Regions from separate parts of the Homo sapiens genome. Here all the other regions are linked to region 4. Evidence: promoter capture Hi-C in 16 types of primary human blood cells and fetal thymus (Javierre and others, 2016). All regions are on one chromosome and are shown on one strand. Each heading gives the region's core, a stretch centred on a gene start or on the middle of the fragment in contact. The rest is flanking DNA. Distances are from core to core; before and after follow the strand shown. Region 1 has its middle 7.1 kb from the start of CASP4. Region 2 has its middle 120 kb from the start of CASP4. Region 3 has its middle 74 kb from the start of CASP4. Region 4 holds the start of MSANTD4 (Myb/SANT DNA binding domain containing 4 with coiled-coils). Region 5 overlaps CASP4 (caspase 4). Region 6 overlaps CASP5 (caspase 5).

Region 1 (4,930 bases), core at 722-3,221, 1.0 Mb before region 4:
TAGTGCTCCCAGGCTTATTAGGATGAGGAAATTCCCACCTAATAAATTTTGGTCAGACTGGTTGTCTGCTCTCAAACCCTGTCTCATGATAAGATGTTATCAATGACAATGCGTGCCCAAAGCTTCATTAGCAATTTTAATTTCACCCTGGTTCTGTGATCTCACCCTGCCTCCATTTGCCTTGTGATATTTTACTACCTTGTGAAGCACGTGATCTCTGTGACCCACACCCTATTCGTACACTCCCTCCCCTTTTGAAAATCACTAACAAAAACTTGCTGGTTTTGTGGCTCAGGGGGCATCATGGAACCTGCCGACATGTGATGTCTACCCCGGACACCCAGCTTTAAAATTTCTCTCTTTTGTACTCTTTCCCTTTATTTCTCAGACTGGCCGACACTTAGGGAAATAGATAAGTGCCCACAAAGAATTATCAGGGATGGGTTTCCCCCAATGCTCTGGCAAGTAGAGGTGCCAAAAAAACCTACAAAGTGCTCAAAATAGGCTTTTCCTCCTTGTTTTCTACTCATTCTTAGATTATTTGTTTCCTGCTTTTTTTTTTTTTTCTTAAAAGGAGAAACTGAGCTGTGGCCTAGGGTTTTTGTGTGGTGGATCGATTTGTACTGCTCGTGGGCAGGACTCTACAGTGTGTCACCATTGAGTCAGGTCTACCCTTGTACATGTCTCAGTTTCTCTCTCCAGAGTTCTACAAACTCTGAGAGGGCTCAAAACACTGGGTAATCAGCCTGATATTCATTTCCTGGACAAGCCATTTTTATAATTAATTTTTGTTGGGGATTTTCCTACAGGGCTACTGCATGTCACAAGGGGGTCAACCCCCAGACATACCCAGGGGTGCCTTTTGGCTAGGAGGAGCAAATGCCCTTTCTCTTCAAAAAAAGTTGAGAAAACTCAGTTTCTCATTAACCGGTGAAATCAACAATTCAGTTCCTCATGCAAATGTGCAAAGTGAATTAAGATTAATTTTGGGAGACAAAGCAATAGAGAGAATTCCTTGAAAATCATCTCCAAACTATAATTAAAATCCTGAAACTACAACTTTCTAGGAGAAAAACCAGCTAAGATAAATCAAAGACCATCAACCAAAGAGAAGTCGGGGGCTCAGGAGGACTTACCAGTTCCACCAGATGAGAAGCTTGAAGTCATGTAGGCTTCAATGGGCCCTGCTACTACCATAGCTCCATATTTGGGCAACTCCTTCCGGGTCCTGAGTCTTCTCTGAGGTGCCACATGTTTGATCACCAAATTATTGTCAATGAAAAGAGTAAAACTCTGTAAAATGTTTGAACAAATTTATTCTTAGCCAAATATGAGTGACCATGGCCCATGACACAGGCCCTCAAGGAGGTCCTGAGAACATATGCCCAAGGTAGTTGGGGTACAGCTTGGTTTTATACATTTTAGGGAGGCATGAGATATCAATTAAATACATTTAAGAAATACATTCATTTGGTCCAAAAAGTTGGGGCAACTCAAAGTGTGGGACTACAGGCTACAGGTAAATTTAGACATTTTCTGGTTGATAATTGGTTGAGTTTGCCTAAAGACTTAAAATCGATAGAAAGAAAATGCTCAGGTTAAGATAAAAGATTGTGGAGACCAAGGTTCTTTTGAAGTCTTGTAGTGACGGGCCTTAGAGAAAACAGATGACAAATGTTTCCTATTCAGACCTTTAAAAGGTGCTAGACTCTTAGTTAATCTCTTCAGGATTAGGAAAGCCTGGAAGAAAATGATCTAGCTATGTTAACAGAGATTCTTTACAGATGCAAATTTTCCGGCACAAAGGACAACTTTGCAGGGCCATTTCAAAATATAGCAAAGAAACATGTTTTGGGGTAAAATATTTTGACTTTCCTCCTTGTCACATAATGATATGCCAGGGTGAGATTCTAAAGTCACGATACACAGGGTTAAAGAAAATCCATCTGATGAGAATTTATGGTTTGTAGGGCCTGGCTCCCCAGACCCCTTAGATAGGAATTTGGGCAAGATAAAGTCATCAGAACGAATATCTACCAGCCAGCCATCTAATTCACAGAAGCCACAATCTTCAGTACTGACAGTATGAGTTCTTTGACATTAAAAGACAGACATAAAGAAACTGAAAAATCCTGGATGCATACAGATGAAGTCAGTGGTTGAATGTCTGGTGTTCTTAAAGACATTAGCACTCACCACCGCAGCAGGCCTGGATGAAGATCACCTTGGGTTTGTCCTTCAAACTTGGACAGTTCCTGGTATTCAACATTTGGAAAATTTCATTGACTTCTAATATATTTGGGAGTTACTCAGAGTATTTTTTCCTACAAATGCCTTCCCAAATACCATGAGACGTGAACACCAGGAAAGTGCTGTCAGAGGTCCTGTGCTCTGGGCAATGAGCAAATGCCTTCAGCTCTGTAGTCATCTCCTAAAAGGCACTATACCACTGATTTTGGACTGTGTAATTCACTATCATGGCACCTTAGAAATCAAATAAATAAATACATAAGGGATTTCTTAAGGAATTTTATGATGAACAATGGAGAGGCAAGAAAAATTTTAGTCTTAGTTTGGAGAAAAGGGAAGAAAGTGTTATAGGAAATCATCCAGAGATATAGAGAGAAGGAAGCATTATTGAGTTAATAAAACACTCCCCAATTAAGTTATACCAGGCTTTAGCTGAATAATCCTTATGTTATAAGAGAACATGTAGCATCCGGCATCCTCCAATGGCAAATTTGGATTTTAGATTATGAAGAGATTATATTCTCTGGTCCTACAACTAAGCTTTCTAACATAATTTAGGAATATGAAAGCCATTACCATTGTCTCTGTGTATGATAAAACTTACTGAAGCAGTGACATTTTCATTCACATCCACGCTATACCCCAGAGATTCTATCAGCATCTTCATATCTCTGACATCAACTTCACCTCTAACCCTCCCAGGAAGAATGGCATTCCTCGTGGATAATGGGATTCTTCTCTGTCCCACTTTGTGTTCCTTACAGCATCATCTATGTGTGAAGCCATAAAAGAAGAAATGCATTCTTAGGAGGACAATCCTGATGTAGTCATTAACACCATTGAGTGAATTCTCTGCTAATGGAACACTTCCCAAGCTAGAGGAGATTTTTAGTGGTGCAATGCAGGAATCTATATTAATATTCTAGCATCAGCTTTTTTACAAATATTTTAGACAAAAACATAGAAAGGGGCATTTTCAAGGCCGGACGTAACAAAACACTCAGAAAACAATGTGTGAGATAAAATCTTTACAATATAAGTTGATTTCAAAAGATTCAAACCCTAGGATAAATTTAATAGGAGTAAGACTTAATTAACTTTGTTAAATATGTCTTTACAAGATGTATGTCTATCTATTTATTTACTTATTAGACATGATAGTAAGCATTAGACATTGTTCTAATGAGCTTTTGTGCCAACATTCAGGATTTCTTCTCAGTACATATCTATATGGGAAGGAAGAAGAAGAATAGTGAGCATATAAACTAGAATGAATATGAAATAAAATAATCAATGCTAAAATCAAGGTGCACAATAGATGACTTCATAGCACTAAACATTGCTTTCATAAACATATGAGGAAGAGTTTTCACAGAGGTTTATGTGAGAAAATCCTTGAAAATTTTATTTGATCACAAGTTCCACACCATATGACAATGTGATGTATTTGATAAATAAATTAATGTAATCTTTGTCTGTTTCAAAATATAAATAAATGTACTAGATATTTGGAGATTCTTTTAGAAACTAAGCTATTAAAATGAGAAAATTATATTCAATTTGGAAATGGAATTTGAGAAACTCCTTTAAAATCAGCTAGGTAAACCAAAGCAGCATTAAGTGGGTTAATTTTGGAGAAGATAAGAGCTAATTAGAATGAATATTTTGGAGAAAACTGTAGAAATAATCATTAGGTGGAAAAAAATGCTTGTTTTTTTCATAGAGGAATCAGAACAACACAAAAGACCTCAGATGGCCAGGCACTGTGGCTCAAGCCTGTAATTCCAGCACGTTGGGAGTCCAAGGCGGGTGCATCACCTGAGTTCTGGAGTTCAAGTCAGCTTGGCCAACATGGTGAAACCTTGTCTCTACTAAAAATACAAAACAAATTAGCTGGGTGAGGTGGCGAGCACCTATAATCCCAGCTACTCGGGAGGCTGAGGCAGGAGAATCACTACTTGAATTCGGGAGGCAGAGGTTGCAGTGAGCAGAGGTTGTGCCATTGCACTCCAGCCATAGGTAACTAGAGTGAAACTCTGTCTCAAAAAATAAAAAATACTTAAAGTAAGTTTTTGATTGTTTTGTAAGGAAGGAATAGGATATTTGGTGATATGATCAGTGTCTCATCTCAGAAAATATTCATAAAATTCATAAAATTATCACCCTTAATAGATTCAGCAGGCCAGGTGAAGTGACTCACACCTGTAGTCTTAATATTTTGGGAGGCCAAGGTGGGAGGATTGTTTGAGGCTGGGAGTTTGAGACCAGCCTGGGAAACAAGCAAGTCCCTGTCTCTGCAAAAAATAAAAAGAAAAATTAGCTAGGCATCATGGTGTGTGCCTACAGTTCCATCTACTTGGGAGACTGAGGTCGAAGAATTGTTTGAGCCCAGAAAACCGAGGCCACAGTGAACTGCGTTCATGCCACTGCACTCCAGCCTAGACAACAGAGCATGACCATGTCTCAAAAAAAAAAAAAAAAAAAAAAAAAAAAAAAAAAAAAAACAACCGGAAAGTAATATCTAAACTTTGTGAAAAAAATTGCTTTCCTGGCTTCACAATTTCTTTCAAATATAAAATCCTTTTATTTTAAGAGAAAGAGTCACTTTTGGAAAAAAAATATTTTATAGTTGTACCCTGTTCTAGGACAAATAAAACACTGACAATTTGGTAAGCAAGAA
Region 2 (4,557 bases), core at 1,052-3,551, 1.2 Mb before region 4:
ATGTTGACAACAATCAATTTAAATTGTAGAGAGTAATGGTGACCAAATTTTCTTGGATAATTTAACACAGGAACATTACACTCAGATAGTTTTATTTTAATCTACATTTTTAATCACTATTTATGAATCTTTCAAAGCATATCCTTTGACATTTGGCCTAATCCTTATTTCCTATTAGCATGTTCTTTTAGTTTTACTGTTCAACAGACATTGGCATATGTTTTTATTGATACATTGTTTTCATGCACGACAATATTAAATAATCAAATGTGTTTTGTGACCTTGTTCAGAAATTCTAATGTTAACTATGTAGATTCTCAGTCATGGCATATTGCTGGTGCCCAGATTTCTTAGCACATATAATCCTTTAATTAGATATTGTGTTTTGATGTTAATATCCATTACTTATCTTAGTATGGCAAAACCTTTGTAAGTGTACAAGCAAAGGCAAAATTAAATAGGAAAATGCATACTATTTCACTAAAGAAAATTATAAAATTTCAAAGTTCAGAAAATGTCATAAACCATATTAAAAGGATAAAGACAAATAGCAATAACGTATTTATTTCAGATATTATGTTGAAGAAAATGATGCAGCTTAAAACTAAAGAACTTTAATAAACCAATAAAAATAAAACTCCAATAATTTTGAAGTGTCTTAAAAGTAAATGTGGAATTTCAGAAAAATAAACATTTTCAATTAATGTAAAGAGTTCAAATTAATTTTAGATCAGTAGTGCTTTTATTAGTAACAACAAAATTATGTCTACTATTTATTAAGCATTTACCATGTGCCAAGCACTGAGCTAAATTAAACCATTTAAACATGATAGCAAATGTAGGAGATAAGTATTATTATTATTATAAAAGTATTATTTTAAAAGTATATAAAAATATTATTATTATTATAAAACCTGCTTTTCAGATGAGGAAATGGGGAAATAAAAAGGGAAGTTATGTTGTCGAAATTTACTTAGTGGTAGAGTTGAATCACAAGTTTATGACTGACAAATTCCTATACACATGTTCTTAAGCCACTGCACTAAGAAAATATGATTTAACTCATAAGATATCTTAAAAATATGTCTGGCAAATTGGCAAAGAATAAAGAATTGATTGTGTTCAAAATTGGCAAAAATATTTTAAAACAGACTTTTCTTTTACATTGTCAGCTGGAATTGTAAAGTGGTAGAGACTTTTGAAGATCAGTTTAAAGAAAATATATTAAAAATATTAATGGGTGATTTCAATGGCTAAATAACTTTGAATCATTTATACTCTGAGACATAACCAGACATTGGCAAAGGTTAATCTAGAATTATATTTATTTTAGCATTGTTTATTCAATAGAAACATTAAAAATAAAATAAACTTTAATAATTGAAAATTCATTAAGTACAGCGTTACGGGATAGCTGTATAATTAATACTAATAATTTATTCAAATTACTGTTTTAGAAAAAATTATTTAACCTCATGACAAAAGTTTCAATATGCTTTTAAAAGGAAAAAAATTCCCAAGTGTAAACTGAACTATACACCCATACACTCGTAAAACATATATTTGCTAAAGAAACTGGAAGGCTACACCTTCAAAGCTAATTGTGGTTATCTATGAATGATGTAATTATGAATAAGTTTTGCTTTTCTTTCTGTTACTTTCTGCATTTGCTAAGTTTCAAACTTGTTAATTTTTTTTTCAGTTCATAAGCTGTATTAGCTAAGATTCATTTAAATCATTATCCTAGTATATACAATTTTAAATTGCATCTCTTCATTTACATCAAGTTAATTACCAGGATACAGAAAAATTTTACTCGTCTTCATAACTTAATCCTTTTTTTAAAATTCAAGTTTCAAAATATTACAAAAGTTTTAATGGCGTTAGTGTTAATAAACCAGGATTCTAAGACATTACATCTCATAGGTCTCTGAAAGAAAATTGAGGCTTTCTATTGCATGTGCGTGTGTCTCCAATTTAGTATGTGAGGATGAATTCCTAGATAATAAAGATATAGGAATTTCTAAGCTTTGCCATGTTATCTATCAGTAAATGAAAATCATTTCCACTAAATAAATCGATTTCCTCAAACTTCTAGTTGTTTAGCTCTTACCCCGAAATCTTCTTGTGTCCTTTCTTCCTTGAAGTATTCCTGGGGTGTAGTCAGTGGTTTATAACAAAGAAATGGACTTTGTTTAAATAATACAGTAATATTTTCTCATTTATTTTGAGAACTTATAGTAGATGTTTCAAATGATCTGAGAATTTCTGAGAGTATTTGCAGAATCACTGCTTTTGCATATTCAGAATCACTGCTTTTGAATAATTATTATAATGCTGACCAGGAGATGCTGCTAAGAGGAGGAGTTCAAATTATTGACTAATAAGTTGTGTTTTTCTTTCTTTCTGTTTCAATTTCAGTGAATCAGAAGAGCAATCTTTTTTTTTTTTTTTCCAAGTTGGCTTCATCCCTGGGATTCAAGGCTGGTTCAACATGTGTAAATCAATAAACGTAATTCATCACATAAACAGAACTAATGACAAAAGCCACATGATTATCTCAATAGATGCAGAAAAAGCTTTTGACGAAATTCAATATCCCTTCATTTTAAAAACTCTCAATAAACTAGGCATTGATGGAATATATCTCAAAATAATGAGACCCATTTATGACAAACCCACAGACAATATCACACTGAACGGACAAAGGTTGGAAGCATTCCCTTTGAAAACCAGCACAAGACAAAGATACCCTCTTTCTCCACTCCTATTCGACATAGTATTGGAAGTTCTGGCCAGGGCAATCAGGCAAGAGAAATAAATAAAGAGTATTCAAATAGGGAATCAAATGGTCTCTGTTTGCAGACAACATGATCCTACATCTAGAAAACCCCATCTACTCAGCCCAAAAGCTCCTCAAGCTGATAAGCAAATTGAGCAAAGTCTCAGGATACAAAAATCAATGTGCAAAAATCACAAGCATTCCTATACACCAACGATAGACAAGCAGAGAGCCAAATCATGAATGAACTCTCATTCACAATTGCTACAAAGAGAATAAAATACCTAAGAATACAGCTAACAAGGGACGTGAACGACCTTTTCAAGGAGAACTACAAACCACTGCTCAAGGAAATAAGAGAGGGCACAAACAAATGGAAAAATATTCCATGCTCATGGATAGGAAAAATCAATATCATGAAAATGGCCATACTGCCCAAAGAAATGATATTCCCATTAAACTACTATTGACATTATTCACAGAATTAGAAAAAATTACTTTAAATTGTATATGGAATCAAAAAAGAGCCTGTCTAACTAAGACAATCCTAAGTAAAAAGAACAAAGCTGGAGACCTCATGCTACATGACTTTAAACTATACTACAAGTCTACAGTAAACAAAATAGCATGGTAATGGTACCAAAACAGACACATAAACCAATGGAACAGAATAGAGATCTCAGAAATAAGATAGCACAGCTACAACCACCTGATCTTTGACAAACCTGACAAAAACAAGCAGTATGAAAAGGATTCCCTATTTAATAAATGGTGTTGGGAAAACTGCTTAGCCGTATGCAAATTTTTTTTTTTTTTTTTTTTTGAGACAGAGTCTCACCTGTCACCTAGGCTGGAGTGCAGTGGCATGATTTCAGCTCACTGCAATCTCTGCCTCCTGGGTTCAAGCGATTCTTGTGCCTCAGCCTCCCAAGTAGCTGGGGTTACAGGCTCCCACCACCACACCCAGCTAATTTTTTCTTTTTTTGTATTTTTACTAGAGATGGGATTATGCCACGTTGGCCAGGCTGGTCTCTAACTCCTAACGTCAAGTGATCCACCTGTCTTGGCCTCCCAAAGTGCTGGGATTACAGGCCTGAGCCATGGCACCCAGCCTAGGGCAATCTCATACTATGTGTAAAGAGGAAAGACTTCCCTTGGCTCTAAAATAATCTAATATTTTGTGACACTTCCTTAATCCAGCTGTGTTTGGAGCAAACATTCTAACTGTAGAATTTGGTTCATCTGTAAAACAGAGCCTAATGTCTGATTGGAGACATAGGTAGTCTGAGATGACAGATGGAAAATATAGCAGTGTTCTTTTCTGATGATCGTTTCATAGATATTTTGTGGATCTGACCCTATTTTTTTTAAGTTTGCTTTGCTTACCTTTGTTTTGTTCTTAGAGATGTATCCTCATTACATTTCCTACATATCCCTGAAGGTTTTATATAAGTTGCTGTATTTCCTGTGTTTTAAAAGTTTTTTAATTTTTCTATTCTTTTGGAAAATGTGGCATTTAAGAGCATCCTTTGTTATAATACATTTGGATAGCATTATTCTTAAAACACCTCCCTACTTATTGGATGATTCGATTCTAACAACAATGTGAGGTAAATAGTGTAAATATAATCGTAGCTATTCAATTTCAGGAAAGTTTTAAAAACCTAGGTGAGAGTATACAGTTTGGCAAAGGATGCAGTAAAAGACCTCTTTTGTGAGTAGGTCAGATAGATAGCTGTTTTATGGTGCTGTTGGAGGAACATTATCTTGAGGTT
Region 3 (4,543 bases), core at 1,257-3,756, 1.1 Mb before region 4:
GAAACAGAAAATGTAATGTGAAGACCAATTGGTTAGATAATTTCCTGATCTTAAGGCCTTTGTGACGAGAGCTAAACCATTCCAGTAAGTCCCCAGTGTCTTGTCTGAATGAGTAATCTTGTGTCTCCGTATTTCAAAGCATATCACCTCATCTGCCCTTTTTGTCTTTAGTTCATGGAAGTGAGCATGAGGACAAAGCTTTAACTTGCCACTGGGTTGGGCACCCTGGATTTCCAGAAAAGCTGAAAGAGAGAAAAAAATTCTGTGGCATAGTAAGCAGTAATGTCTGCTGCCTTGCAACACTGCAGATCCTTTTGCTAGGCTCTCATTCCTCAAAACTGCTTACTGCCAGTCCATGAAAAAGTTTCATAAAATGAGAAAATTGCTTCATATTTAAAATGCCTAAAGCAAAAATATTGAGTACATCCCTATTTTCCTTCTGCTTCTTACTGACCTGGTTATCAATTTGTGTGTTTTTGTTAGTGCTCACAGCATGAACTTATCTTTCAGACCCAACACATTAGCATCGTATAAACACAGAAACTAAGATTCAGAAGGAAGTGTAATGTTTATCTAGCCTAGTGGAATCAGTACTCAGCTATTTCATGTCACTTGAAATATCCCTTCTTTATTATTACCATTCTCTGAGACATCTCCCCTTTCATGGAACTCAAAACATTCCAAGGCATTCTTGAACAGTTATGTGTATTACAATCTGTGTACCTTCTAGGTATTGATAGGTATTTCCCACCTCAGAATCATACAGAAAACATTTAATTCATTTCCCTGTAAAAGCCCATGAATTCTTCCATGACCAACATGTCTTTCCCTATTTTTTCATTCTTACATGAAAATACCTTCAACATAAACAACTATTGCATTGTACTTTAATTGTGTTTACTGTACTATAACCTTAATTAGGATAGAAAAGGTGGTCTTCTATCTTTGTATTTCCAGTATATTAGAATAGTATCTACCAAGATTGCTAGTTTATAAATTCTGTTAGTGAATAGTTATCCTCAAATACTTGAAAATAGCTACAAGGTATCCCCTGGTTCTTTGTTCCCTTAGGGCAACAAACCTTCTATTTCTTTTCATAGTTTTGGGTAAGAAATATTTCATCTTTTAACCACCAAATCCATTAATTTGCCTACATCTCTGCTCACCTCCTCTACTTTCTCTTTGGCTACATAAAACATGTGTCCTTCCTCCTATCTAAGATCACCGCCTCTACCTGAGCTCTCAAATCCATCCCCTCCCACCAACAAGGGTTTTTCTCAGGTATTTATTCAGCTTCAGGTTCTATGACATCATTCATTCTCTTCCTCTTTTCCCACAGACTTATTCCTATTGACAGCAGCATGACTTAATATATATCATTTTTTTAAAAAAAACCTTCCTGTTTCCTTGCCAATTATTGGCCCATATCACTACTTTACTTCTCTACACAATGCCTGAAAATCATTTTGTTTTTTGCTATTTCCAATTTTTCTGTCTTATGATTTTTGTATGCAATCCAATCCAGCTGTTATCCTCAATCCTTAAATAAAATATAGTTATCAAACTACCACTGATTATATGTTGATTTCTTAGCATTCACATGGCATTCTCTAGGCTTCTGTAATGCTGCATTTTCCAGCCATTCTTCCTAACTCTGTCTGTCTTAGTTGTTGGTTCTTCCTCTTCCACAATGCCTCCAAAAGTTGTGCTTTTCTATGCCAGACACTCTGTTATTCTCTATCAATGCTCTTTCCCATGTGGCATCTTCCAGTCTCAATATCTTAAAAACTATCTACATACTGACGAATCTCCAGATTTTTCCCAGTCCAGATTTCTCTGTGAGCCCATCCATTTGCCTATTCAACATCCACCACTGGAGGTACCACATGTTCCAAAGTAAGCATACAAAACAGGACCCTGATATTGTGCATTCCTTCAAATCTGTGTCCCCTGCACACCTGTTTTCTCTGACTCAGTAAATGGCACCATACACCCCAGTTGCCAAGCCAAAAACCTAGTCATTATTAATTCTTTCCTTTCTTTCACATCCCATATCCAATCCATTAGTCAATTTGCATTGATTCTGCTGCCAAAACTAGGTCTCAAATTTAACAACTTTTCATCAGCTCTATTGCCATAAACCCAGTCTAAAAGCTATTGTTTTTCTAACTGAAATATTTAAACCGCTTTCAACTGGCCTTTGTGATGCGACGCTTATCCTATCACTCCTCGTTTAACAGCTTCTAAGGTAGTGTAAATGAAGGCAGGATGCATCATTTATCATTTTTCTGCTGTAGACATTAGGACATGCCCTTGCAGTTACAACCTACTTGGCTCAATTAGCATGTAATGATTTCAAAATTGGCAGTGAAATTAAAGGGAGAATTGAGAGTACGGAGGGAAGAAAGTAAAAGGAAAGAAGGAGAAAAAGAACAGAGGAAAAAAAGAGAGAAGGAAAAAACAGAAACAAGAAAAAGAATGTCAATGGGAAAGAAAATAAAACAGATGATAAGAAAGGAAAAATGAAAGAGATGGAGAAAGAAAAGTGGGAGATTAAAAGCTCCTTTATTTTTTAAAAAACTCTCAGTTGGAAACACCTTATTTACATTTTGGTAAAAGGGAGTACCAAGTTCTTACTCAGGGCAATTTATCATATGTCATATTACTTCTGCTTTTTAATGTCAACTTATTTTATGTAAACTAAGATAAAACTTAGCTTCCATAAAAACATTCTTTAATACTCACACAAGTTTAAGCACTTGTTTTAGAAATAGATGTTAACTGTAATAGATGGCCAGGAAGAACAGAGGCTATGCAACACTCCTGGAATTTGTAAGGATCCTCGACTGCTAATAAACAGTTGTCTAAAAAAGATTCCAAAAAAAGAAAAAAAAAAGCAAAAACAAAACCCTGCAACGTTTTATATTGCAAATAAAATCCCGGCCTGTCTCTTTAATAGCTCCATTTATACTCCCTCTAATTTCCTACTCTCCAGTCAGATTGGCTGTGACCCTCTTACACAGCAAGAGCATTACTGTCTCAGGGTCCTTGCTCTTGTTTCCCCTTTCTAGAGAACACTTTTGTTTCAGAGTTTGGCACAACTCCTTCCCCACAGTTCAAGTATGTACTGAAATGCCACCTCTGGGGAGAAGTTATGGCTAAACATCCTGGCTCACTGGCCTTTTCTTGATGCATATCCAAGAATTGGGAATATACTTATTTATGTATTACAGTCTGGAGTAGGAATCAGCAAACCATGGCCTATGGGTCAGATTCAGCCCAACACCCAGTTTTATAAATAATGTTATACTGGGATACACATCAACACACCCATCATGCACTTATGGTCTATTGCTGTTTGTGAGCTACAATAGATGATTTGAGTCATGACAGGGGCCACATGGTCCAGAAAGATTAAAATATTAATTATCTTTCAAAGAAAAAGTGTAGCAACCCATGTTCCAGAGAGAAGGAAACATCTATACCCCACTGACCCATGAATTCCCTATTCCTTCCTTAAATAGAAATCTAGATTTCCAGACATTTCTTTCTGGGGCAAAGCCACAGCTAAGCAAAAGATAATAGATATCCCCTATTGTACATTCTGTATCTGGGAATGACTCTAACGTCCACTTTGTGCAACCAGAGTAGCCCAGAATAGCTAAAGGCTATCACTGAATTTAATGTATCCAACACCATTCCTTTATTTAACAGATATTTACTGAGCACCTATTATGTTTCAGGTATCATTTCCATGTGTTTGGGATATATTCATGAACAAAGCAGACAAAGACCCCCCACATGGTGGAGTCTACATTTCAGCAGAGGGAGACATAATAATATAATGAATAAGTAAATTGTATGGAGTGATATGGTGAGTATTGTTAAAGAAAAAAGTATACAGCAGTGTAAAAGTAATTGGGGATGATCAAGGTATTTTGTGACATTAAATAAGATAGACAGGAGGTCAGGCCCAGTGACTCATGCCTGTAATCCCAGCACTTTGGGAGGCTGAGACAGGAGGATCACCTGAGATCAGCAGTTTGAGACCAGTCTGGGCAACATGGTGAAACCCTGTGTCTACTAAAAAATAAATAAATAAATAAATAAATAAATAAATAAATAAATAAATAAATAAATAAAATTAGCCAGGCATGGTGGAGGATGCCCATAAAATCAGCTACTTAGGAGGATGAGACAGAAGAATTGCTTGAACTGGGGAGGTGGAGATTGCAATGAGTTAAGATTGCACCATTGCACTCCATCCAGCCTGGATGACAACAGCAAGCAAAATACTCTGTCTTAAAAAAAAAAGAAAAAAAAAAAAAGATTGGTGAAGAAGGTCCTAAGATGGGCATAGTTTATTCTCCACTTGGAGAAAGGAAAAATAAAGAAGACAAAAACTGAATAAGAAGAGTAGAGAAAGAATAAGAATGAATTACTAGCTGTTAGCCCCACAATACTCACCTGAACTCAGCTGTTTTTTGGAATTCCACAGGTGTTCCCTAAATATTTTGCCTGCAATTTGAGCTGTCTCAGTGAT
Region 4 (4,449 bases), core at 1,276-3,775:
AGATCAGATACGAATATATTATTCCTGCTATCAAATAATTTGCAACTTAGTAAAACACAGATGCATAAAAAAAGTACATAAACAAATTGTAATGAAGTCTGTAACCTGAAGGTTGTGAATACAGACTACCTAAGGCTGTATGCCAATTCCACCACTTAACTAGCTCTGTGATCTCCAGCGAATTACTTAACCTCTTAAACTTGTTTCTTCATCTATAAATGGGAATAATAGACTAATACTCGTGATGTTTTGAAGATTAAAAGAGATAAACCGATTAAGAAGTTTATCATGCCTAAGACATAGTAAGCCCACAAATGTCAGCTATTATCCATTGCCCAGTACAGTATCTGAATGTAATTAACAAATATTTCTTCACTGGATGAATAATGCAAATATACAAAAACTACAATAAAGAAATACTAACAAAATACTCTGGATATTCATAAGAAAGACAAATCTTTGATGGGATCAAGGAATGTTTTGAGTCAGAATCAGCATTTGATTTGGGTCTTATAAAACAGACTAATGAGGGACAGAAATAAAAGAAAGAAGTATCAGGAATTAAAGCTGGAAAATTAGGATAGTGCCAAGCAGCAAATCTTACTAAGCGAATTCTGGCTTAATAAGACTATTATTTGCTAAAAATGAACTGAAAGAGACAAATATAACTGTGAAAGTTTTTTGAAATTCAAGCAGGCTACCATTAATATGGAAGAACTGTTACTGTAGTAACATATAAATATATAACCAATATAAGTATATAATAAAAATGATTGAAGTTGTCGAGAGTCCAAATTTATGCAGATATCCACCGTAAGATTTTGCTCTTAGAATCTGAGATCAATTTAGAAATCGCATTGTTGTAAATGTATTGGTACATGGTAGAAATAGCAGTCCTTTTGAAGTACCACTGAGTCAATATATTTTTAAAGTTTGACAGCAGCTGTTGCTATTTGCAGGGCCTATTTTTGACCAACAATTCCTAACTCCATATCTCTAACTTACAAAGTGGTATCCCGTTGTCCTGACTGATCTATTCTGAACTGATGAACTATTTCATTTAATCAAATGGGCTTTAATACATTTTTAACCTGACTGAAATTGATATTGGGATGCACCTTAGATACCCAGTCTTGGCTTAATTGTGTGAAAATCTTCTTCTAAAACCTTGATATTTTCTGATTAAGTGCAAGAAAGTGCCAGCATTGATGCATCTTGAGTTGTTGAAGTTCTGTAGATATGCTTACCTGGATAAAAGCCATTTCCAGAAATGTTTGTCTTCCTGTCCTCTCCTTTATATGCCGGTATCCAAGTAACAGAAGCTTGGGTTTTCTACCATCCATTCATTCCCCAATAATTTCCTCAAAAAATACTTACTGAGCTCCTACTGTGTGAAAGGCACTATTTTTGGTGCTGGGGATATAACACCTCATAAAATGTGAAAATATGTCATTTTAGATGTCAAACACTATCCCTTTTCTATTGCCTGTCATCGCTCTCTTAGCAGAAAGGATTCAACAGCTGCAGTCTCTAAAACTTACAAACCTTCTATGCCCAATCACAGAGAACAGCCATTTTCTAAAATCCCATTTCACAATCGTTCTTCACTAGTTGGAAACAGGAATGAGATGTAGTTCACTTACGTAATCCTTGTGAAGATGATGTACTGCCAATGGCATAATATAACCAGGCAACTTTTTACAAGCACTAAAACTTGAGAATGAAGTTCCTAGATACTTCATGATAAGTCAGAATTAAGAAGTCTGAGAAAAACCAGACGGCAAGTTCCGGATCAAAAAAATTTGAGGGTAAATTAGTTAAGCAGTTCAAGAAGAAAAGCATCACAAATCTACAATATCAAACCCTACCCAAATTCTCTTTAAAGTGTGGCTTTCCCCTCCCCTATATTCTTATAGGGGATTCACTTCCCTGCCAAAAAGTATGTTCTTCTCTAAAACTCGTGGTAGGTGCATAACAAGTATACTTATGGGTCGACGGTTATCAAAGTATCTTTCACCTCCCTCCCGCTGCCTCCTTTGGGACCGTCCAAAAAGAGCCCCTGGGAAGAATCGAGTTAGACTGGGCTCCCGGAAGGCCACCCAGGGGAGCAGGGGCGCGCACCTGCCTCGGCCACAATGATGAGGTTGCTGCTGGTAGGAGTCCCGGTGGGAGTCGGGGCAACCTGGAAGATCTCCTCTCTCTGGGTATTAAATGAGAGTCCCGACTGAGTGCCCAGAAACTTCTGCAGTCTTGTTTCCGTGGCCTGGGCCCTCCCCAGCCTCCCCGGTCAGGCGACAGACGCGCGTGGCACTTCTCCCGAGCGTGCAGTCCCGCTACGTCGCAGCCCTTGGACCAAACCCGGCAGCAAGCGTTGCGCCAATTGCCGCTGACCCCTCCGGGACCCTACCCACTGCGAGGGCACCCACTGGTCACGGAGCCGCCGCTTCCCTGGCCGCCTCCTCCAGCATAGAACCGCTCACCTGCGACCCCGGCGGCACCTCCCCACGGTCGCCCCAAGGGGGGTAGGAAAAAAGATGCTTCATTGATCCCCCGCCCACTAACTGGGCCCGCCCATCTCCCGCCACCCCAATGGCTCATATGGCTGCCGCTCATTTGATGAGTCTCATCCATTGGTTAGAATGGTGTAGCCATTCTGGCTGAGAGCCCGCCCTAGGCCTGGCCTCACAATGGGAATCAAGTCCCAAACCGGTTCCGGGTTAGTGCCCTGGAATTCCGCCCCCTCGTGATTCACCTCCCTGTCTGTGCCCCGTCTGTGGCGCGCAGCTCTGTCAGTCAAGTGGACTCTAGGAAGGGATTGGCCCCTAGAGATCCGCTTGCTGCGCTGTTCCAACTGATTGGGGCACTGGCCGCTGCATCTCCAAACTCGTCTCTTGTCCTTGACCCTCACCTGTTAAAAGGGCAAAGAAGAAGTAGGAAACTTGTGCTGCTCCAGTCGGGTTCTTAGGCCAGCATCACCTTCTCCTCGACCAGCTGCGACCTAATTGGCCTCAGCCATTCCTCTAAGGCTGCCCGTGCCAAAGGTCGCTGGTGACTTCCTTATGGCTAAATCTAGGAGTCACTTCTTAGTCCTTATCATACTATATACTTCCCAGAAGACATTTGAATTTTTTTTTTTTTTTTTTTTTTTTTTTACCATTCTTCACTGTTTCCCCAAATATGTGCTTCTGCTTTCTTCTCTCCCAGTCCTCCTCTATATTCAAGTTTGCAGTTGCTTATTTTCTGCCGTCTCACGTTCAGGTGTTTGTGATTAGTGCACCTTTCTTCCCGCTGCCTCTGTCCAGGCCTCTGTGGACTCACCTGAATTCCATCAGTAGCCTCCTAGCTGGTCTCCCAACATCCTGTCTGCCGGACTGTAGTTCATTCTTCACGTTGTAGCCAAAATGAGCTGCTTAAAGTTTTTTAGTGGAATCTCACCACTGGTGATACAGTACAAACTCCTTATCGAACCTGAAAAATAAGGCACCTACTTTTCCCTCAACCTTCATCTCTCGACATTATACCCACATTTCTTCTTCCTTACCCCATTCCCTTTGCTTCTTTCAGTTCCTGAACTCTACAGTGGCTACTGGGAAGTCAGTTTGCATTGCTGTGTTTCCTCCCTGCTTCTCCGCTATGCCTAGCATTCATTTTTAGAAATTCCTTTCTAAAGGAAGGCTTCCAAAATTATCTCCATTCACCCTCCCTCCACTTCCAAGTATTCCCTTCCCTGTAGGTTTGCCAGATAAAAACAGGACGCTCAGTTAAATTTGAAGTTCAGATAAAAAGCAAATAATTTTTAATCTGTCCAATGGAATATTTGGTATCCATATGTTTATTTGCTAAATTTAAAAAAATAAAAATTTTTGTTTACTAAATCTGCAAGCCTACTTCAGCGAGCTCTCATCACGGCCTTTCCTCTGACAGCACTTCCCACATATTTTATGTGGGTGGGGCTTTTCTTGTTTACTGTTGTGAATAACACAGTGCCTAGAATGTAACAGACAAAAAAGATTTGGTAAATAAATGGTGGAATATTCTGGAGGAATGGTGCATCCTTGCTGGATATTCTTGGAGGAACTCTCCCATAAAATAGGAAGTAATTATGAAATATGCTCTTTAAAATGTAATGATCAGATTGATCTTACAGATTGTTACTTATGACTTTGTCAGTAAGTATAGACATGTTTGTCAAAGAAGCATGTCTATACTTTTGCCAAAGTAGATCAAAAGAAACTTGTAATTTTTGGAAAAATACAAGTTGTATTTTATAATTTTGGATTTTGTTCATGGTGGGTGGTGTTTTTTTGATGAGTGCAGTGAGAAAGTAAGATAACTAGCTATCCCCATCATAACCAGACACTATCAGTTCTGTTCAGAACCTGTCCACCACTTGACTCTGTTTATTTACCTCAGTAATGGGGACAAGAATGGTGAATCAGTATTAACAAA
Region 5 (4,873 bases), core at 1,961-4,460, 1.1 Mb before region 4:
GAAGTAAGTAAGCACTGGAAAAGTCTAGTTCATAGCATCCACATAATAATTATGAAAACTAGTATTTATTGAATGCATATACTTTATTTATTTACTCATCCTACATTATTTAGGCATCTGCTATGTGCCAAGAAAACTACTGATTACTGTTATTAATTGGTGAAGAAACCAGTTGCATTCTGGTGGGAGAAACTTGGTAGATGTTGTTTCGGTCTACTGAGATGAAAAGGGAATAAAAATGCAACAGTTTTGTTCTGGGGAACAAAGTGTATATTTTAGCTGTATTTGTATTGTGATGCCAGCAAAACACTCAAGTAGACCTGTTGAATATGTTGCTAGAGCTAAATGATCCTGGAGTTCAGAGGAGAGAGTTCCGGATGAGAGCTAATATCTTGAGAGTTGTTGGCGTGTGGTGCCTGTCATTATAATGTTTCTAGGCTTAGACGATCTTGTGAGAAAGTACTGGAATTGTCTTCATTTCACAGATGGTAAGACTAATAACTAAGGATCTAGGGAAGTTAAGCAACTTACAGGATGTCACATAGGTCACAGGTGACAGAATCTAGGTTTAGTTCTATGTGTCCCTTACTACAAGGTGTGAACTATTAACTATTTTTGTACACAGTCTGAACACAAGGACTCAGCCTTTTAGCTGATTGTAAACTGGATTCCACCCCACAAAAGGGAAGTGGTCTCTAAAAGGACAAAGATAGGTTTAGTGAAAATGATAGTTTAGGAAGGGAAAGATAGGGGAATCACAGAAGACACTGCTTAGGCCTTGGAGTTAAACAGATTTAGGGAAAATTGAGACATTCATTGTAAAAAATCCAGTCTTACCTTTTTTATTGGGGGATATTTGGTCTATGTTAAAAAAGGTTTGAAGAAGCATTTGTCCTGCCATACGTTGCTTCTCTTGCATAGAGTCTGCCATGACCCGAACTTTGTCTTCAGTTTTAGCATCGTAATATTTCTTTTTTTCCTCTTCCTTCCAGTTCAGTACATTTTGTTCCACCAAGTTATCCAAAACACCAGTGAGGAAATCTTTGCCCAGGGATTCCAACACCTTAAGTGGCTTTTTTCTGTGGTTGCCTTCTGTTAGAAATAGAAAGATTCCTTTAACTATGGGCACAGCTTAAAGAGTTTCACCCTCACTTTAGATATAGTTCTATAATGTGAAATACTTCTGAAAGTATGTCCTACTTCACCATCTGTCTTCTTGTACCTATAGAGTTCTGTCATTCATCATATTCCTACCAGGTTGTTTAACAATTTATTGCCACTAAATACTTTTTATTTTCTTTTTTGTTCTTTTTTCTTTTCTTTTCTTTTAGCTTCTCAACTTCCTTCTGTGGCATTGGACCTAATGCAAACTTCCTGGTCATCCACTGTATTCATTTTTCTCTTTTACTGGTTCACGGCCCATAGTGATAATGATCTGCCTAAAATATATATTCCCGGGAAAGTCAATGCTCTTGTCTAGAATATAAATTCTTCCTACTAGATTTTTACTTCCTATATGATTTTTACTCTTTTCTGTATTTAGTTTTCTTGGTGAAAGAACTATATCTTTGAATTTGCATTTTTTTAACTTACATCCTATACCCACATCTTTGTATTCAAAATGTTTAAAAGTACTTAATATGCTTGCTAAATACATAAATTAAAGAATAAATGGATGAGTGCATCCATATTTATAATTCTTTCAAATCTTGTTCTCAATGAAAATTTAAAATTGAAAGTAACCTGATTCCTAATCTTCCAGTGTGGTGGATTAGTTTAATTTGACACCATGTTAATGTATTACTCCTTAGAGTAATTTGAATATTTATAAGGAAATATAGATACCAAAGTAATACATCCTTTGTTTCAATACAACAGATATGATTTCGGCAGATTGTACACAGAAATGCTGGATATCTTATCAATTCTCAATCAATGCTACAAAGATAATTATACAATCCATGTAGATGTAAGGATAGTGCTGACAGAAAATGACATCTAAAGAAATCATGTCAGGACATTGCACAAAAGCTTTGGCACAGAAGCACCAGCCTCATTGTCTGGGTTATCTTGAATTAATATTTTCATACGTGCTTATTGGGCAGCTATTATGAGAAAAACATTAGACATTACAAACCAGGAAAAAAGTTACATAATATAAATTAACTTAGTAAAGGGTAATATCTCCCATGTACTTATTATAAATAAAAAATGAATGCATATAAAACAATTTAAATCATTATTATAATCATCATTATCATTTACATATCACTGTACCAAAGGTTTTACAAATGTTAATATACTGGACCCTCACAATAAGCCAGTGGGGTAGTTATTATATTCCCTATTTTATATTCACCATTTAAATAATAACTTATGTCACATCACATGAATTAGGATTCAAATCTTGTTTTTTTCACCATAGTCTATATAGTTAATCATGATATGGTTCAGTTAAAATAGTTAATATTCATTGAGCCCTCATCATGCCAAGTGCATTACTGAAATTTCACAAAAATTCCATATAAAACATATATTAACCTCTCTTATATGGAAAATGGAAGATAATAAGTAATTGACTCAAATAATGTAAAAGAACACCGAGTATATAGTAACTGGGAACAAGAATTGAAATCTAGGGGTTCAGAATCCAGAGCCCCCATTCTTAATTCATCAAACTACATTACCTGACAGTTGGTGAAGAGCTTCTTAAAAGAATGTAGACAAGATATTTAAGGGGCTCAGAAAACATTAGTGCATTCCAACAGGTGAGATCACAAAGGCTTCTGAGAAGAGGTAGCAAAAATGTTAGTCTTGCAACATCAGGTACAGATGTTGCAACACAGTGTGATTTGCAAACAGTACACAGATTAGTGTGTGGGATATCCAAACTACCTGAGTTCTGGGCTTCTGTTTTATTTATTTGTGTGCTCAGTAAACTAATATAGTGTTGACTGAATAAATGATATGTGAAGAAATATAATAAGCAATAAAATTGAAGAGTTTTTAACAAAAAAAGTCACATATGACAAACACACAGCTAACATCATACTCAATGGTGAAAAGTTGAAAACCCTTTCTCTAAGATCAGGAAGAAGACAAAGATATTCACATTTACCACTTCCATTCAACGTAGTTCTGACCAGAGCAATTCGCCAACAAAAAGAAATAAAAGGCATCAAAATTGGAAAGGAAGAAGTTTAATTGTGCCTGTTTAAAGATGAAATGGTCTTATATACGGAAAACCCTAAAGGATCCACCAAAAATCTTTTAGAACAAATAAACAGATTCAAGAAAATTGCAGGATAAAAAAAATCAACATACAAAAATCTGTAGTGTTTCTGTATAACAATAAACCATCTTTAAAAAATAAATAAATTTCCATTTAAAATTGCTGCAAAAATACTTAGAAATCAATTTAACCGAGTAGGTAAAAAACAAGTACACGTAAAAGTATAAAACTTCAACCCGATCAACATGGTGAGACTATGTCTCTACAAGAAATTTAAAAAGTTGGCTGGCCATAGTAGCATGTGTCTATAGTCCTTGCTTCTTGGAAGTCTGAGGTAGGAGGATTGCTTAAGCCCAGGAATTTGAGATTATAGTGAGCTATAATTGTGACACTATACTCCAGTCTTGGCTACAGAATGAGATCCTGTCTCAAAAATAACAGCAATAATAACAAATCTCAAAACTATAAAATATTGATAGGGAAAACTGAAGAAGACAAAAATAAGTAGAAATGTATTTTGAGTTGATGGACTGGAAAATTACTATTATTAAAATGTCCCTAATACCCAAAGAAATCTAAAGATACAATGCAATTCCTATCAAAATTCTAATGGCAGCTTTTACAAAAATAGAAACAAATCCTAAAATTTATATGGAATCACACACAAAAAAACAAACCCTGAATAGGCAAAGCAATTTTGAGTAAAGGGAACAAAGCTGCAGGCATCGCACTATCTGAGTTCAAAATAGACTACAAAGTACTACAGTCATCAAAATAGCACAATAGTTGCATAAAAATAGAAACAGAGAGCAAATGAACAGGACAGAAAACCCAGAAATAAACCCAATTATTTACATTAATTTGACTTTTCAACAAAGGTTTCATGAACACACAACTGGGAAAGAACAAATTCTTCAATAAATGATATTGGGAAAATTGTAAAACCACATGCAGAAGAATAAAAATCTCTAAACATATACAAAAATAAACTCAAAATGAGTTAAATATGTAAATGTAAGAACCAAAACTGTGAAACTACTAGAAGAAAACAGAGGGGAACAGCTTCATAACATTGGTCTAGACAGTGATTTTTGGATATGACAGAAAAGGACAGGAAACAAAAGCTAAAATATGCAAATGAAATTACATCAAACTAAAAAGCTTTTACACAGTCAAAGAAACAATCAAAAGATTAAAGAGATAATCAACAGTATGGTAGAGAAGATTTGCAAACCATACATCTGATAAAGAATTAATATGCAAAATACAAAGAACACAAACAATTCAATAGAAAGAAAATAAACTGATTTAGAAATAAGCAAAGGACCAGAATAAACACTTTTCAAAAGAAGACATACAGAGAATATGTATATGAAAAATGATCAACCTCTCTAGCCACCAGGGAAATTGAAGTCACAATGAAATATCACTTTGCACCTGTTGGAATGGCTATTACCAAAAAGACAAAAGATAACAAATGGTGGAGAGGATGTAGAAAAAAAGAAACTCTTGTACACTGTTGGTAAAACGTAAATTAGGCCCTGCGCAGTGGCTCACGACTGTAATCCCAGCACTTTGTGAGGTTAAGGCGGGCAGATCACCTGAGGTCAGTAGTTCTAGACCAGGCTGGACAACATGGTA
Region 6 (4,499 bases), core at 761-3,260, 1.0 Mb before region 4:
AAAGTTGAAGGATACAAAAACAACATGCAAAAATTAGTATCATTTTTATAACAACAAACTAAAAAATTGGATGATAAAAATCTCATTTATAATGGCTATAAAAAAATTTCATGAAATAATAAGGAATAAATGTAACCAAAAAGTTAAAGATGTATATACTCATAACTATAAAACATTGACAGAAGAAAATGCCTGAGATTCACAAAAATCAAAAGATATCCCGTGTTCATGAATTGGAAAATATTACATTATTATGTCTATACTACCCAAGAAATCTATGAATTCAATACAATTCCTATTAAGCCTCCAATGGCATTTTTTACAGAAATAGGAAAATCAACCTTAAAATTCATATGGAATTATTTAAAAATTCAAATAGCCAAAGCATCCTTGAGTAAAGAACAAAACTGGAGGCAGCACACAACCTGACTTTAAAACATACTGCAAAGTTATAATAATCAAACATAGTACTGGCATAAAAGCAAACACAGAGATCAATGGAATAAAACAAAAAGGCCAGAAATAAACCCAGTTATTTACAGTAAATTTATTTTTGACAAAGTTTCAAGAACAGACAATAGGCTAAGGACACTTTCTTCGATAAATGATGTTGGGAAAATTAAATATCCAAGAGCAGAAGAATGAAAACGGGCCCTTATCTGCCACCATATACAAAAATCAACTCAAAATGGATTAAAAACATAAGCCTAATAACTGAAACTTTGAAACTACTACACAAAAACGTGGAAAAGCTTAATGACACTGGTATAGACAATGATTTTTGGATATAACACTAAAAATATGGGAAAAGAAAGCAAAATTAAGATATGAGATTACATCAAACTAAAAAGCTTTTGCAAAGCCAAGGAAACAACAGTGTGAAGAGATAACCAACAGAATAGGAGTAAATATTTGAATCCATATGTCTGATAAGATATTAATATTCAAAATATATGAGAAACACAATTCAATAGGAAGAAAACAAATATTACAAAATGAGCCAAGGACCAAAATAGACATTTTTCAAAGGAAGATGCATAAATGGACAACAGGTCTATACAAAATGCTCAACATCTCTGATCACCAGGGACATTAAAACCACAATGAGATAATGCCTCACACCTGTTAGAATGATTAGAATGGGTATTATAAAAAAAAAAGATAACAAGTGTTGGAAAGGATGTAGAGAAAAAGGAACTCTTGTATACTGTTGGTGAAAATATAAATTAGTACAGTCATAATGAAAAACAATAGGAAACTCCTCAAAAAGTTAAAAATTAAAATGAATTAAAAATGTTAAAAATGATGTAGCAGCCCAAATATTTAGTATATATTTTAAACATTAAGTCAGTGTGTTGAAAAGACATATACACTTCCATTGTGATTGCAGCATTATTCACAATAGGCAAGATATAAAATCAACCTAAGTATCTGTAGATGGATGAATGGATGGAGAAAGTATCATAATGCAACAGTATTCAGCTTTAGAAAAAAGAAAGAAATCTTGTCATTTGTGACAACATTGATTAACATGGATAACATTACATTAAATAAAATAAGCCAAGCTGGGCACCAAAAAACAAATACTATATGATCTCACTGATGTGTAGACTCACAAAAGTTAAACACATAAAAGCAGAGGGTAGAATGGTGGTGATTAGGAGGAGGCAGGAAGTTTGGGGAGATGTTGATCAAAGGAAACAACATTTCAATTAGATCGGAGAAGTAAGTTTAAGAAATCTATTGCACCACATAGTGACTATAGTCAATGATGAATTCTTGAAAATTGTTTGACAGTGTAAATTTTAAGTGCTGTAATCACAAAAAAAGATGAGCATATGAGGTAATGCATATGTTATTTAGCTCTTTAGGCATTCTACAATATATATTTCAAACATCATTTTGTACATAAGTACATAAAATATTTATTTGCCAATTAAATAAATAAAATAATATTTATAAAAAACAATTCAAGACATTTGGCTTGAGAGCCTCTTTTCATAATCTATAAATTCTCATAGCATCAATTATAAGTTTAAAATAATAAATAAATGACTCAAATTTATGGATCAGCCCAGATGTGGATCCCGTATGGAAACCCATACGTCCAAAAATGAGACGTCACTTAAAATACTCCCACAACCTCATTCAATTGAACTTTTAAAATTGAACTGCTAATTTTCTTCTATTTCCATCCTTCATTTGCTCCTCCATATAGTAAAAAATAATACCTAACTTCCAAGTGCGGGAAGGCAGCAAAACCTGGTGATATTAAACTTCTTCTGCCTTCTGTATGTCTTATTCCCCAACTCAATTCACACTGCATTGATTTTATTTACTAAACATTTTCAGAATCTGACCACTACTCTTAATTTTAATTGTTCATTACTTCTATTCAGGCCAACACCCTTTCTTTCTGAATTACACCAAGAACCTTATAAACCTTCTTTTTGTCCTTTCTATTCTATTCTTCACAATAAAGAGTGTTCCTATATCTAGATTTGACCATGAAACGTCTCAGCTTATTCTAACCTAGGCCTTCTCATTCAGCCTCATCTTCTGATACTGTCCCCACCTTGCTCATTACAATTAAAATATTCTGCTCTTCATTTAATGTCTAGTCCAGTCTCCCACCTTCTCCTTGCTTCCTATTCTCCTATACTTTCTGTTCATTCTCCAAGTCTAAGACCAGATGGCATTTTTTTTTTTCAGGCAATCCTCTGATTCTCTGAGGGGAGACAATGTCAGAGGTACATGCCCCTAGGGCACCTTGTTTCTCTTTAGGGTAGCATAGTTTTTTACCTTTAATTGTGATTTCCAGCCTAATTCTCAGCATCCACCATTAGATTTTATGCTCTGTGAGGATAGGTGGCCATAAACTAGGCCTGCACTACTTCTGGCACTCAAGGGAAGTCTAATAATTATCTACTGAATCACTAGTTGAGTGAATGTAGAAACAAATGAATAAATTTTAGGTATGGCCCAACTCTTGAAGAATATTTAATAAAAGGTAAGTAAGTTTGATTTTATTTAATAGACAATAAGCACACACTGGAAGTTTTAAGCAGAAGGAAGGCATATTCATTCTGGAAAATTTGGTGAGCAAAAGTTTGTGAAAAATACTCTGCTAGTTGTGAGGGTACCATTTTGAGGAAATGTTCTTACATGTTCAAGCTTACAGTCAAGTGGAAAGATAGATATGCAAATACATCAAATAAAAAACATTGTAAGAATTTAAATAACGAGCAGATGCTCAAAAAAAAGCATGAGCACACTGTGTTTCAGGTAGAAGATAGCTGTCCAGAGAAGGGAGGGCTTGGCACTGAGACCTGAAAGACTAGGAGGAATTTGCCCCTTGGACAAGTGAGGGCTGGTCCCCTAACAGAGAGCAGTGTGGGAAGAAACACAAAGATTTTAGGGTGTCTAAAGTAATCAGGAAGCTGGGCTAGCTGGGCTTTAGAAAGTATTGAAGTGTGCAGCCAGGACTGAAGTGGGCGTGATGAGATAGGGCCATCATTTGAAGATGTTTGTTTGCAGAAAATTGACAGAACATTAGAGTGTTGAGTTTAAGAGTCAGGCCAACCTAGATTCACTCTTCTCAACAGACATTAGACCAAAAGAAAATTTCGTAGTCCTTTTCTAGACACCTTCCTCAACTATAAAATGGCAATAATAGCACAAACTTAACTGACTGGTTTTAAATATTCAGTCACAGAGAGTGCAAGAGATACCGATCACACAGTATTATTTTTAAAAAACAGTTTTTATTGATTACTTTTTGTTATTTTAGTAATCAATGAATTGAAGATGCAGTGATAATAAAAACGAATGGAATAATTTAGAGGCCAAATTCATCAAGAGCAGTTTTGGTCCTAGGCAAAGTGATGTGATGTTCTTACACATTTTATATAGGATACTGTTTTTCACTAGTTTTATTTAACAAAGACCAACTACACATGGTTGTTTATAATTATTAACCCACTTAACTTATTTTTGATTAGTGCTCTTCAATTTCTCCTATCTATTATCTAATGATTCTCCTGACTCCAGTCTACGACCAGTAAAGTCAGCCTGCCCGGCCAAAGAGGCAGCCATGGCTATGAATTTGACTTACTCCTCCCTGGCCAAATGCTTTTTAGTATCATAAAATAGACAAAAAAAAAAAAAATTTAAAAGCAAGCAATTCCTGCATTTTAGGAGTTTCAGTTAAATGTTGTGAGGTGAGATGTAAACCTTGGAGATAATTAAGCTAGTGGGAGAATCGAATAAAGAAACTCAACAGCAAGGAAGTACAAGTGAAGTAAAATACAGTAAACATTTGCTTCTTTTTCTTATGAACGTAAAAATCGTGCCTTAGAGTGATTAATGGAAAAATGAATAAGTATATTTTGAAAGACAGAAACACCATCTAAAACACTATCTGAAAGTTTAGATATTTTTAAAAAGGCAATAGGGAGCCAATGTATGTTGCTGAGTAAGAAAATTACATTAATAGATCC

What was found. The method cuts DNA at HindIII sites, captures the fragments that hold promoters and counts their contacts. A CHiCAGO score of 5 or more calls a contact.
Region 1: a fragment that was not itself captured here is called in contact with the fragment with the promoter of MSANTD4 in region 4 in 2 of 17 cell types (non-activated CD4 T cells and naive B cells); the score reaches 5.5 in non-activated CD4 T cells.
Region 2: a contact is called between a fragment that was not itself captured here and the fragment with the promoter of MSANTD4 in region 4, in 1 of 17 cell types (monocytes). The highest score is 7.1, in monocytes.
Region 3: a contact is called between a fragment that was not itself captured here and the fragment with the promoter of MSANTD4 in region 4, in 1 of 17 cell types (total B cells). The highest score is 7.3, in total B cells.
Region 5: a fragment that was not itself captured here is called in contact with the fragment with the promoter of MSANTD4 in region 4 in 1 of 17 cell types (naive CD8 T cells); the score reaches 5.6 in naive CD8 T cells.
Region 6: a contact is called between a fragment that was not itself captured here and the fragment with the promoter of MSANTD4 in region 4, in 1 of 17 cell types (total CD8 T cells). The highest score is 5.2, in total CD8 T cells.

The regions. Positions count from the first base shown.
Region 1 is chr11:104,973,160-104,978,089 of GRCh38, forward strand. No RefSeq gene overlaps it. Among named protein-coding and RNA genes, the nearest start is that of CASP4, 7.1 kb to the left of the region's middle. The HindIII fragment of the contact is 1,634 bases long and covers 1,155-2,788 here.
Region 2 is chr11:104,843,680-104,848,236 of GRCh38, forward strand. No RefSeq gene overlaps it. Among named protein-coding and RNA genes, the nearest start is that of CASP4, 120 kb to the right of the region's middle. The HindIII fragment of the contact is 551 bases long and covers 2,027-2,577 here.
Region 3 is chr11:104,892,750-104,897,292 of GRCh38, forward strand. It overlaps the pseudogene CASP12. Among named protein-coding and RNA genes, the nearest start is that of CASP4, 74 kb to the right of the region's middle. RefSeq lists an enhancer at 1,943-2,471. The HindIII fragment of the contact is 4,621 bases long and covers 197-4,543 here.
Region 4 is chr11:106,019,715-106,024,163 of GRCh38, forward strand. MSANTD4 (Myb/SANT DNA binding domain containing 4 with coiled-coils) reads right to left here and starts at 2,526. Exons shown (of 3, transcript NM_032424.3): 1 at 1,248-2,526. RefSeq lists enhancers at 2,048-2,167, 2,998-3,067 and a silencer at 2,498-2,607. The HindIII fragment of the contact is 3,155 bases long and covers 1,321-4,449 here.
Region 5 is chr11:104,953,910-104,958,782 of GRCh38, forward strand. CASP4 (caspase 4) reads right to left here. Exons shown (of 9, transcript NM_001225.4): 2 at 838-1,092. Among named protein-coding and RNA genes, the nearest start is that of CASP4, 12 kb to the right of the region's middle. The HindIII fragment of the contact is 2,362 bases long and covers 2,030-4,391 here.
Region 6 is chr11:105,011,599-105,016,097 of GRCh38, forward strand. The region is part of intron 1 of CASP5 (caspase 5); the gene reads right to left. Among named protein-coding and RNA genes, the nearest start is that of CASP5, 9.3 kb to the right of the region's middle. The HindIII fragment of the contact is 2,323 bases long and covers 850-3,172 here.